Linked DNA regions of Homo sapiens: region 1 is linked to region 2. Evidence: promoter capture Hi-C in human tissues and cell types (Jung and others, 2019). All regions are on one chromosome and are shown on one strand. Each heading gives the region's core, a stretch centred on a gene start or on the middle of the fragment in contact. The rest is flanking DNA. Distances are from core to core; before and after follow the strand shown.

Evidence for each region. Contacts are between HindIII fragments. The study calls those that stand out against the background at their distance.
Region 1: a contact is called between a fragment that was not itself captured here and the fragment with the promoter of ADAM21 in region 2, in 2 of the 25 tissues and cell types used here (H1 embryonic stem cells and hippocampus).

Annotation. Positions count from the first base shown.
Region 1 is chr14:70,526,943-70,533,628 of GRCh38, forward strand. The region is part of intron 1 of ADAM20 (ADAM metallopeptidase domain 20); the gene reads right to left. The region is part of intron 1 of LOC105370556 (a long non-coding RNA gene); the gene reads left to right. Among named protein-coding and RNA genes, the nearest start is that of ADAM20, 4.7 kb to the right of the region's middle. The HindIII fragment of the contact is 4,789 bases long and covers 1-3,849 here.
Region 2 is chr14:70,450,493-70,457,287 of GRCh38, forward strand. It overlaps ADAM21 (ADAM metallopeptidase domain 21), which reads left to right and starts at 1,682. Exons shown (of 2, transcript NM_003813.4): 1 at 1,682-1,771. The HindIII fragment of the contact is 8,309 bases long and covers 1-6,795 here.

The DNA.
Region 1 (6,686 bases), core at 205-2,704, 76 kb after region 2:
CAAAGGAAACACAATTGTGTTGAAAATATCAGAGGGTTTTACACAGATCCTTAGCAAGACCTTCAAACACTGTAACCAGAGTTTATATTTAATTTTCTGTGTCTGTGTTTGTATCTGCACACTCCCATGCTCACTGAGTCTCAATGTAAACTAAGCTAAATTTCTTATTGTGGGTCACAGTCAAAATCCACTGGAAGAGCAGTAGCCAAATAATGAAAATGAAAGATTTTGGGGAAAACTCTGTCCCTCTTTCTTTGCTGAAAATAAAATCCTATCTGAAACTACAGTCATTCTTATCTCTCCCTGGGATCTTGGATTCAATTTCAGTGAAAGATGTATCTTCCTCCAGTTCCAGCTCATAGCCCCTCTATCTGTGCTATGAATCCTATAGCCTTACCTACTTGAAGATTGACTCAACTGTCAGATTTATCCTCAACTTTTCCTTCATTACTTTCTCTTTATTTCCAGTACATGAACATACTCAAATCTCTACTAACCTTAAAATATTTATCTTCCTTTATTCTCACATACTCCCATGGCTACCACCTTGCCACTAGAACTTTCTCTCTTTAATGGACAAGAATCACTTACCAGCAAACTGAACAATTATGCCCATAGTTCTTTTAATGGCCACGCTCATCAGTGGTCTGTATTGCCCCCTCAAAAAACAAATATAAGAACTGACATCTCACATGTCAAAAGTAAACAAATCTCTGTAGATCTCACAGAGGATTAAGTTCTTAATCTCGCTGCTCAGCAACAAGGTCCTCTCAGTTACAGATCACACCATGTGGCTCTTAAAGTCAATTGACTCTGCCTCCACCACCTCTATCCAGTTTTCTTTTTCTATCCCTCCCCTACATGCAAGTGTCAGGTCAGCCTCTTCAACCCCATCTTATGAGCTCCACACACAGCATATGCTCACTTCTGCTTTAGGAACTTTGTTCATGCCCTACCCTTATCTAAATCATCTAAACCTTTCCTCATTCTTGAACCACATTATAGTATCCTTCAATGTTTAGATTAAATTCAACTTCTGCTTTGCATCATTAATATTCTGTAAACTTCTGAATAAGCATCATATCCTGTGTTTGAAATATTTATGTATATGGTCTGCTTTTTTATGTGTGGTTCTACCACATCACCAGTTAAACTATAATTTGGTAGAAAAATATAGCAGAAATATTGTTATTGATATAAAATGTTCATACTTTTGGCTAAAGAAAGCTTAGTATCCTTAATATAATTATGTTAAACCTGCATAAAACAAAGGTGAATGTGAAGTTCAATACAATATTAAAAGCAACTGAATGATGATGCACTCGCAGTGGGCGGGGGAGTTTGGAACAACAATTGGGAGACAATTTTATATCTTTGCCATCTACTATCTTCTTTTTTAGATATGGTTGTGAGGAAATGGATCAGAAAGTGAATAGATAAGGATCACTTAGGTCCATCTTCTAAGAAAGTCCTTTTCATTTTCTTTTCATGATTGTATTAATAACTGGATACTTTATTTCTTTTCATGATTATATTAATCACTGGATACATAGGTTTCCCCTAATGTATAGGGGGTTGAACTGTTCCATATGTCCAGGTAGAATTGGAGAATCCTTCTTAGGATGTGTTAAACAAAAAGGTTTCCTCATTCCAGAGCTTAGTGGAGATAATCTGACCATGCCAGATTTGACTGACAATGATGAAAGAAATTGTCCAAGAAATGAGAGGCTTGGGAAAATACACAAACCCAAACCTGGAAAGGTTTTGACAAGGACACAGTAGATGATGCTATCAAGAAGAGAAAACTATAAACAGGCTGATAGATGGCCACATGAAAAGAGAGAACCTCCTTGAGTCTGACAGAATGGGCAATCACCTGGAACATCTGTGTTAGACAATGACTGAAGCTTCCTAAAGCAGGTTTGACTACATCTTGTTTGTAGTAAAAATAATTTCATATGCATCTAAAAGCAAAACAAACTGTTACAAGAGACAAAAGATGAGACTATATAATGATAAAAGGGCTCAATTTATCAGGAAGATATAACAATTAGAAATATATGCACCCAACATTGGAGAACCCAAATGTATGAAGCAAACATTGACATAATTTAAGGGAGAAATAGATAGCAACACAATAATAGTAAGATATTTTGATACCCTATTTTCAATAATGGATAGAACATCCAGACAGAAAATCAATTTAAGAAACTGACTTGAACCATACTATAGACCATATGGACCTAACAAACACACACAGAACATTCTACCCAACACATCAGAACACACATTCTTCTCAAGGGCACACAAAATATTCTCCAGGATAGTTCACATATTAGGTCATAAAACAAGTCTTAACAAATTTAAGATTGAAATCACCCCAAGCATCTTTCTGACCACAATAGAATGAGACTAGCTATCAATAATGTAATGAAATCTGAAAAATTCACAAATACACTCATTTATCACTTAACAATGGAGACAAATTCTGAGAAATGTGTTGTTAGGTGATTTCGTCATTGTGCAAACATCATAGAGTGTACTTCTACAAACCTAGAATGGTATAGCCTACTATACACCTGGGCTATATTGGATAGCCTATTGTTCCTATGCTACAAACCTGTACAGCATGCTACTATACTGAATACTATAGGCAACTGGAATACAATGGTAAGTATTTGTGTATATAAACATATTTAAACATAGAAACAGTAAACATATGGCATAAAAGATATAAAATGGTTCACTTGTTTAGGGCACTCATCATGTATGGAGCTTGCAGAACTAGGAGTTTCTCTGGGTAAGTCAGTAAGTAAATGGTGAGTGAATGTGAAGGCCTGGGACATTACTGTACACTACTGTAAACTTTATAAACACTGTGCACTTAGGCTACAATACATTTATTTTTAAAAATTTCTTTAATAATAAATTAAACTTAGCTTACTATAACTTTTTTACTTTATATACTTTTAATTTTTCAACTTCTTGACTGTTTTGTAATAACACTTAGCTTGAAACATAAAACATTGTACAGCTGTACAAAAATTTTTACATCGTAGGCCAGGCATGGTGGCTCACGCCTGTAATCCCAGCACTTTGGGAGGCCAAGGCGGGTGGATCACGAGGTCAGGAGTTTGAAACCAGCCTGGACAAGATGGTGAAATCCTATCTCTACTAAAAATACAAAAATTTTTATATCCCTATTCTATAAGCTTTTTCTATTTTTAAAATTATTTTTTCTTACTTTTAAAATTTTTTGTTAAAAACTAAGACACAAACACAAACATTAGCCTAGGTCGTCACAGGGTGAAGATCATCAATAATCACTGTCTTCTGCCTCCATATCTTGTCCCATTGGAAGGGGCAATAGCATACATGGAGCTGTCATCTCCTATGATCACAATGCCTTCTTCTGGAACACCTCCTGAATGAACTGCCTGAGGCTGTTTTACAGTTAGCTAACTTTTAAAAAATATATGTAGAAGTATACTCTAATATAATGATAAAAAGTATAGTATAGGAAATCTTTTATCATCATTATCAACTTTATGTACTACACATAATTGCATGTACTATACTTTTATATGATTGGTAATGCATAGGTTTGTTTACACCAGCATCACCACAAACACATGAGTAATGCATTACGATGTGACATTAGATGGCTACAAAGTCACTAGACAATAGGAATTTTTCAGCTCCATTGTAATATGAGACCACTGTCATATATGCGATCCATCATTGCCCAAAACATTCTTATGTGGTTCATCTGCAGATGGAAATTAAACAACACCAACCATTGGGTCAAAGAAGAAACTAAGAGGGAAATTAGCAAATATCTTGACATAAAAATGAAAACACAGCATACCAAAACTTATAGGATGCAGCAAAGCAGTCCTAAAAGAGAAGTTTACAGAGATAAATACTGACATTTAAAAAAAAAAAAGAGAGAGAGAAATCTCAAATAAACAACCTGACTTTACACCTTCAGGAACTAGAAGGAAAGAAGAAAAAACTACGCTGAAAGTCAACAGAAAAAAGACATAAACATTGGAGCAGTAATAAACAAAATAGAGAATAGACCATTTAAAAATCAATACAAATTGGTATTTGAAAAGATCAACAAAATTGGCAAACCTTTAACTAGAGCAGCTAAGAGAAAAACAAAACAAAAATCAGAAATGAAAAAGGAGACATTATAACTAATGACTTAGAAATAAAAAGGTCTAAAAGAAATTACTATGATACAAGGATAGTTTAACATTCAAAAACCAATCATTGTGATATATCACATTCACAGGCAGAAGGATAAAAATTACATGATCATCTCAATAGATGCAGAAAAAGCATTTGACAAAATCCAACACACTTTTTTGATAAAAAATACTTGACATTCTAGGAATACAAGAAAATGGTCTCAACATTATACAGGCATGTATGGAAAAGTACACAGCTAACATTGTACTCAATGATGAAAAACTGAAAGCTTTTCCTCTAAGATCTGGAACAAGGCAAGAATATCCATTTTATCCACTTCTATAAAACAGTATGGGAAGTCCTAGCCAGAGAAATTAGACAAGAAAAAGAAATTAAAATGTCCATATCAGAAAGGAAGAAGTAAAATGATCTATGTTCACGGATGACTTGATCTGTAGAAAACTCTAAAGATTCTACAAAAACAAACCTGTTATAGCTAATAAATGAATTCAACAAAGTTGCAGGATACAAAATCAACTACAAAAGTCACGTGCATAATTATATACTAACAATAAATCACCTGAAAAATAAGAAAACAATTCTATTTACAATAGCATCAGAAAGAATAAAATACTTAGGAATAATCTTAAATTTAAAAAATTAAAGACATGTACACTTGAAATCACAAAACCTTGCTGAAAAAAATTAAAGAAGACATAAATAAATGGAAAGACATCTCATTCATAGACTAGAAGACTTAATATTGTTAAAATGTCCACACTATCCAAAGCAATCTACAGATTCAATAGAATCCCTAACAAAATCTCAGTGGCATTATTAGCAGAATTAGAAAAACAATTCAAAATTTATAAAGAAGCACAAATGGCCCCAAACAGCCAAAACAATCTTGAGAAAGAAGAATAAAGCTGGAAGCCTCATACTATCTGACTTCAAAATATATTATAAATATACAGTAGTAAAAACAGCATGGTACTGGCATAAAAACAGACAGAATACAGAGCCCAGAAGTAAACCCAGACATGTATGAATAAATGACCTCTGATAAAGGTGCCAAAACTACACAATGGGGGAAAAATAGTCTCTTCCATAAGCAGTATTGGAAAAACTGGATATCCACATGCAAAAGCATGAAATTGAACACTTATACAACACAAAAATCGCTCAAAATGAAATAAAAACATAAAAATAAGACCTGAGACTATAAAACTTTAAAAAAACACACACGAGAAAATCTTCACAGCATTTGTTTTTGCAATGATTTCTTGGGCATGACACCAAAAGCACGGGCAATAAAAGCAAAAATGAGACTACCTCAAACTAAAAATCTTCTTAACAGCAAAGGAGACAATCAACAGATTGGAAACAGATGGGCATGTAGTGGCATCATAATTATTTAAATTACCATCCAATGTTAATTGTGATTAAGTTCCCTATTGATGCAAGTATGTAGGGTGACCAAGTGACTGCTGTAATTATAAGTACATCAAGGATGGAGGAGTGAGATAGCTATACTTAACTATATTGGCATTTTACATGATAAGGCCCAAGGCCCTAAATTCACAGTGGCCTACATGACAGGAGAAGTATTTGCCAAACATCTATCTGATACCTGATAAGGGTTACTATCCAAAATATATAAGAAACCCATAAAACTCAAAAGCAATAAATTAAGTTTTTTCAAAATACAAAGTTGGGCAAATGACCTGAATAGGCATTTATCCAAAAATATATATATATGGCCAACACCATTTATGAATAATGTTATAACACATGAAAAGATGCTCAACATCACTAATCATGAGAAAATACAAATCAAAACCACAAAGAGATCTCACCTCTAGCTTGGATGTTCTGTACGCTCCAAATTTCATGTTAAAGTGTGACTTCTGATACCATCTCATGCCAGTTAGAATGGCAATTATTAAAAAGTCAGGAAATAACAGATGTTAGAGAGGATGTGGAGAAATAGGAATGCTTTTACACTGTTGGCGAGAGTGTAAATTAGTTCAACCATTGTGAAAGACAGTGTGGCAATTCCTCAAGGATCTAGAACCAGATATACCATTTAACCCAGCAATCCCATTACTGAGTATATACTCAAAGGATTATAAATCATTCTACTATAAAGACACATGCACACGTATGTTTACTGCAACACTATTTTCAATAGCAAAGACTTGGAACCAACCCAAATGCCCATCAACGATAGACTGGATAAAGAAAATGTGGCACATACATACCATGGAATACTATGCAGCCATAAAAAAGAATGAGTTTATGTGCTTTGCAGGGACATGGATGAAGCTGGAAGCCACCATTCTCAGCAAACTAACACAGGAACAGAAAACCAAACACTGCATGCTCTCACTCATAAGTGGGAGTTGAACAATGAGAACAAATGGACACAGGGAGAAGAACATCACACACCAATGCTTGTTGAGGGATGGGGGGCAAGGGAAGGGAGAGCA
Region 2 (6,795 bases), core at 432-2,931:
ATCAGCAATAGGTTCTCAGAAACTGTGACTTTAACAGTGCAAAGTAACATACAACAAAACAAATTTTTATTTGTCTCATCAGTGTTATAATGAAACACATTGGACAAAACAATGTTATTTCAGGACCTACTGTACATTGTTTCACCTAAAGTTGCAGTTTCCAAGAACCTATTCATGACATTGAGGACTTACTATACTTACTAGGAATAATAGGAAGAAATGTGTCTACTCTATCTTTTCTGGAACCAGAAGTTCTTAGTGCTGATTCCACAAAGAAATAAATGTTGTCCGGGTGCCTGTAATCCTAGCAATTTGGGAGGCCAGATCACTTGAGCCCAGGAGTTTGAGACCAGCCTGACCAACATGGACAAACCCTATCTCTATAAAAGATACAAACAAACAAACAAACAAAAAACAGCTGCACTCCAGCCCGGGTGACAGAGTGAGACCCTGTCAAAAAAAAAAAAGAAAAAGAAAAAGAAGAAGAAGAAATAAATTTACTCCTTCTTACAGCTAGAGAGATCAAGCCAAGCTCCTTTGGGAAGGTTTCATTCTTTTCCCACCTATGGATCTTGCAGGTTACTATTTGTTCTGCCTGAAGCAGGCATTCTATTCTTCCTCAATTATCTTTCTCCCTGCGTAGAGTTTCTTCGCTCTGCTTACTAGTGCTACTGGCTTGCTACTAAGCTTTTTCCATGATTGAATGTATGTGGTTTCCTCTACTCTAATTTTTTGGGGCTATGTATACCTCATTGTAAATGATGTCTGGTATAGAAGTAGATGTTATCCACTGAGTCCAGCGGAAGACAAACCTCTTTGTATCTACCCCTCCTAAGGCAGAGGTGTCTCCAGTTTTGCATGTATGAGCAAAACAGTTTATCAAAAGGAACCTTGTCAGATTTCTAAAGAAACCAGCATAAATAGTAGAATCTTTTCCTGGCAGGAAATGGAAGGGGTCTGTAATTAAAACTGCTTCTAATTGATGGTTATCCCATGAGGCTCTGATTCTACCAGGTAAATTAGGAGTTGACAAAAATCTATAACAGAAATTCCCAAAGTTAGAGTTAATATTTTATTAAATTAGTCTTTATCCTATGTAGTTTTTATAAATTGAACTCATCTTATTGATTATATATTTTACCAAACACTATACCATAAATTCTCCACCAATCATTTTGAGCATACTTTTCTCCAAAACATTATAGTCTAATAGGAGATGCAATTTTTAAAACTCACGTATGAAACAGAAAATAGCAAGGATATAAATTTTGTCACACAAAAATGTATTGCATATTAAAGTTATAAAGAGAGTTACAGGATGTTAATGTTTTCTGGATTATTTAGGAAAGATTTGATAATGGAAGTGGAATTTGATCTTGCCCTATAAAGTTACTATAATTCAGTTCAATGGGAAAAGTGATTAGACAGTCTAGACCAATGCAATGACACCAGCAAAATTACAAACCTGTGCTGTCAGGGGACATAGACTGGAGGTGAGGAGACAACCCAATTCCAATTGTATTAAATTCGGAAGTGAGTATAGAAATGGCAGGATGAGAGCAAGATATTCTTCAGAGCCTATTATTATTTCTGTAGAATTGAAAGTTCCTTGTTGCTAAGTAGCTAAATCTAGAATTTAGTCACCTGAGAGACAAAAGGGAGAGGGCTTATGTTTCCCTTTGTTCTGTGGCCTCAGCTACAAACCATTGATAAAGCATGGTATAAACCATCTAGACAGAAATGGCCATGGAAACTACTGTTTCTTCTGATGGTAAGTCATTCATAAAGTTTGGTTCTATGCATAATTTGGTATCCAGAGTAGTCCACTGGATAATGTGAAGTCTCTTAATTTTTGTTTTGTTTTCATTTTTTTTGTTTGTTTGTTTGTTTTGAGATGGAGTCTCACTCTGTCGCCCAGGCTGGAGTGCAGTGGCGCGATCTCAGCTGACTGCAAGCTCTGCCTCCTGGGTTCACACCATTCTCCTCCCTCAGCCTCCTGAGTAGCTGGGACTGCAGGTGCCCGCCACCACGCCTGGCTGATTTTTTTGTATTTTTAGTAGAAACGGGGTTTCACCATGTTAGCCAGGATGGTCTCGATCTCCTGACCTCGTGATCCGCCCTCCTCGGCCTCCCAAAGTGCTGGTATTACAGGCGTGAGCCACCGCGCCCGGCGTGTTTTCATTTTTAAAGATATGAGTGACTTGAGCATGGATGTAGGTAGGGTGACCAACCATTCCAGTTTGGTTGAGACTGAGGGGATTGCTGGGTGCAGCACTTTCAGTTTTAAAACCAGGACAGTCCTGGGAAAATCAGGATGAGGTAGTCACCTCAATTGCCAGTAAGGAATAGATAAAGTAGTAGAAGATGAAGATGCAGTTGAGAATAGGGAAAATTAATAGAAACAGTCCTCAAGTAGGTGGGAGAGATGATCTGGAACCATGAGGGGCTAATGAGACTAGAGAGGTAGTAAGGTAGAGAAGAGGTGGATATAGGCAGATTCAGATGGTGAAAGGCCCAGAAACCATTTTATCTTTGAATTTGGCGTGTGTGTGTGTGTGTGTGTGTATCATATTCCAGAGAAAGAAATCCACTTTATATTATGACATTGTGGCTTTACACACACTTACACCCCACATATTTGGCACTGTGTGTGCAAGGTTGCTAAGGATCTTCTAGGGATGCCTTCTGATATTTCTGTTCTATTTCCTCAAGGAAAAAGACTGCAGGCTATAGCCAGCTGAATTACTTCCATGACTCTAATGGGACAGATATTAGTGACAGACAGATAGGAAAACAGTGCATTAGGGCATTGGAATAAGAGGGAAGATGGGTAGAGAGCGGTCTTGATGAATTTGAAATAGCTGTGGGGAAAGGAAGAGTTTATCAAACATGCAGAAGAGGGCTGTTGGCTCACCTGATAGTCCGCTGACATTAGAGGACATGGATTTACGGTGGTACCACTTCACAGTATCCATGGTAGAATGATGGTACTTCAGGAGCTTTGGTCTCTGTAAGTCCTAGGAATGAAGACAATGAGTCTGGTTTTAAAGATTTTTTTAAAGTTATTCTCCTGTTATTGCCTGCTCTCATGCTGAGCTCCAAGAAAAAGAATAATATGACACAGGTTGGTGTAGCTTATCAGTCCTTTCCACAACATTATATCTTTGATTAGTTCTTCCCATTTTCAATCCTCCCATCCACAACAACTGTCACTCCATAGTAAGTAGAAAACATATCAAGAGAGATATAGAGAGCAAATCTGGCAGTTAGAATTTCATCCCAATTCAGAGATCTTTGTTCTTGGAAGTTTTGCCTATGAACTTTGCTTTTCTCTTCCATGCTACTTGCACCTTGTGGAATAAGGTGCCTAACTTGCAGCAGTGAAAACTGCCCAGATGAATCCAGCCTCTTTAAGCAAGTTAATGGCAAGGATAATGTTCAGCTTGAAACAAGTTTTCCCCATCTTCCAGCATCCACATAGCCAGTCTAGGACAAGAAAAGGAAAAAAACCTTAAATACTTTATATTAGAAAGGAAAGGTACTTGGTTAACTAATTCTACTGTGATTGAGAGACAATGAGAATGGATTTTCAGCTGCTGGCACTATACATAAATGAGGAAAACTCAGAAGATTGAGGAGGTGCAAATGCAATATCCAGGAGAATAAAGAAAAGAGCAATATGGCATAGGAAGTTTTGAAATATCTACTGGATTTTATATCTCTATTCCTTAGGCTGGGGATCCAGGACAAGCCATTTCAGTTTTGATTTCTATATTCTCTTTTTAAGCCTTTCACAAACACATTGGTTTTGGGATTTTTTTTTTTTCAGAGCAGCATTAGTAGCTTTGATGTAGGAGTGGAGGAAGTATGTGAAGAATTAATGCAGTTCCTGCCCACCCCCCATTCCCCGACAATCTCTGTCACATTTAGGACTCTCTAGAGTCAAAGATTTTGGCATACAGTGCTTGAAGGGATGAAACTGGTAGCAGAGCTGAATGGATTGGAAGACAAGAACATTAAGAGAAATGGGGGATGATGAAAGAAAAGTATTTGGGTTTTCTTTGGGTTTGAGAAACAGGTATAGCAGAAGTAAGGGGGAGAGCTGGGAGAACTAAAATTGTTGGTAAATTGATTAGGATATATGAAATTTTTTGTGTGTTGACAAGGTATACATTATGACTATGAGTGGGTGGGCTGAATTACACTGAAGATGAATTGAAGAGGTTAAAAAAAACTTTAAAAAACCCTGTCTTGTTTTCAGATGGGTTTTCTATATACTTGCTAATATTACTTTAAGTTGAGGGTAGGAATTTTGGTGGAGAATAATTTTATCAGTCAGAGGCCAGAGCCTTTGAATTTTGTCCAAGTGTGATAAGGGTGGTTGAAGAGACATCTAAAAATAGTGTAGTCAGATATTGCAGGATAAATGATTTGGTGTTCATGTTGTGGGCTGTGGAGAACAGGAACTCTGGTCCTTGTGGTGCATGTGACTTCTGAGGATGGAGTTTCTCAAGAGGAAGCCTTTAGGCAAGCAGTAAATTCTATTAAAGCTCAGGTTCAATACGGTAAGTAGATGTAGGGAGCTTTCTGTGAAGAGGTACAGGATGGAGTTGGTTCTCTCTCTCTCTCCTTTTGTCTTTAAAGGAAGACTCCAGAAAGCACAAGGGAAGGTATAAGAAGAGAATATAAGGAAACTTGAATCAGGGCAAAGAAAGCATTGATTAGAAATGGATTCAAAATCCAGGAGATGATTGGTGTTGGGTCAGGCATGTTCATTTTTATATCTTCTGTGTAAGTCCTCTTAGATTAGCTTGATTTAAGTGCTTTTCCTTTTTGTTCTTATAAGAAATAGCACCTACCTTCATCAATATGTTGATCACAGTCAGAGGTGAAATTAAGTTTTTGGGCCTGATGCACGTACAAGATGAGGGGCCCACTTTAAGAAAAATAATACCAAGTTACAATTGCAGAAAATAAGTATGAAAATGAGGATTTATTTAGCATAAGAAAGAAGCTGCAACAAATTATAAATATTAAAAGGTTGAAAACACCATAAACATCACAAAATTTAATCCCCTCAGTATTACATTAATCAACTTCCTAACTCACTTTTATGATACCTTTTCCCTATAGTTTTTAAATTGCTTATTTAATTACCTCCCTTAAGAGAATTATTTTGTTATAATTTCTACGGCAAGAACTGAAAGGCATTTGCCTTTCCCTAGTATGTTTAATAAAAATTCATTTTGTATTATTAATAGTTTAGAAAAGAAAATTCAGCTTCACAGCTTGTTATTGGTAATGAGATAAATAATTAAATTTACTATTGTCAAATTTTAGAAAACCTCTATTAAGTCTTTTATGTATGCGATGTAATATTTCAGGGTGTTTGAGATTTTTCTTGTATAGTGACTAATTTTGATTACTCATAATTATATGACTTTCATAAAGTCCATTGCTGAGCCCCTTACAGGGTCTTTATAGAGGTCTGTACAGTGAGGATCCCTGAAGCATAAACTTTGTCTGGTTTTGATCATATTATATTATAATTATCTGTTTTTTGTTTGTTTCTACACATGCTCAGTGCTTACTAGCCTCACTTTTGACAGTCATTTGAGACTATGATGAAATATATGGATACTCTCCTCAGCAAAAAAAGTCATGAAATACATAAAATATTGAATACAATATTACTGACCTCCTAAAGCTTATTCTTGCTCCTGCCACAGTTTCTGCACTAAATTGATAATTTATTTAATGCTCTGTATTTTGATTTTCTTTCTCTAATATCTAGCACAATGTCCTGCACTTTGTATGCTCCAAACACATAAAGACTTGTTTAATAAATAGAAAAAGAAATGGATAAGTGTTGCCAGCCAGACTGTATGACAGGTGCAGAAATTCCCCACTTTCAAAAACTGTTGGTAAATATATTTGAGCAAACACTCAGACTCTTCCCTGGCGATCCTAAAATACTAGACTCTACAATGGTTTTTGCCCTAATAAGAAAAGAGTTCCTTTTCGGAAGACCTTTAAACTGCATAGATTCTCATTTTCTCTTCTGAAAGCATTTCGTTTTGTCTTTGGGACTCTCCTGTAGCTAACTGGAGAGAACAACATTATTCTCTCCATACCCTTAAATGATGTCAGTGTTTCATGAATTTTCTTTTCTAAAAATTATACTACAATATGAACACATTTTAGTAGCATTCACTTATAATCCAAGACATTTTGCAATCCCTCCTCCGTTTTTCCATTTTTCATTGTACATAGAGCTATATGAGGCATTACAGAGGATACTAAAATGAACGAAAATCATAAACCCTGCAGTCAAGAATCTTTCAGTCTAATGAAGTTATGAGTAAAGATGAATACAATGAGGAATAGTAAATAACTTTGAGATAAAGAAACTAAAGTATATCATAAGACTGATGCAACTTGACACAGAATTGTGATTATTTTTGATGTCTCCAGTTTTGATAGTCAAAGGAGACACTATCAATAGATATTGCAAGGGCAACAGGCATAAACTAATATTATCTTGGACAATTTGATATATAGAGTCACCCTACTCTTAAGTTTCTTTACTTTTGCTTTTACTTTTTATTATGGACATTCCATACTGCCTGTAAAGACTGAGATAACTATTTAAGTACCCATCTTCCAACTTCAACTATTATCACCACGTGGCCAATGTTGTCTCCTCTATACCCCCTAAATCCCCACCCTCATTTACTAAAAGCAAATCCAAAGCATTTTCTTGATTCATCAACCAGTTTTTCACTACTTCATTCT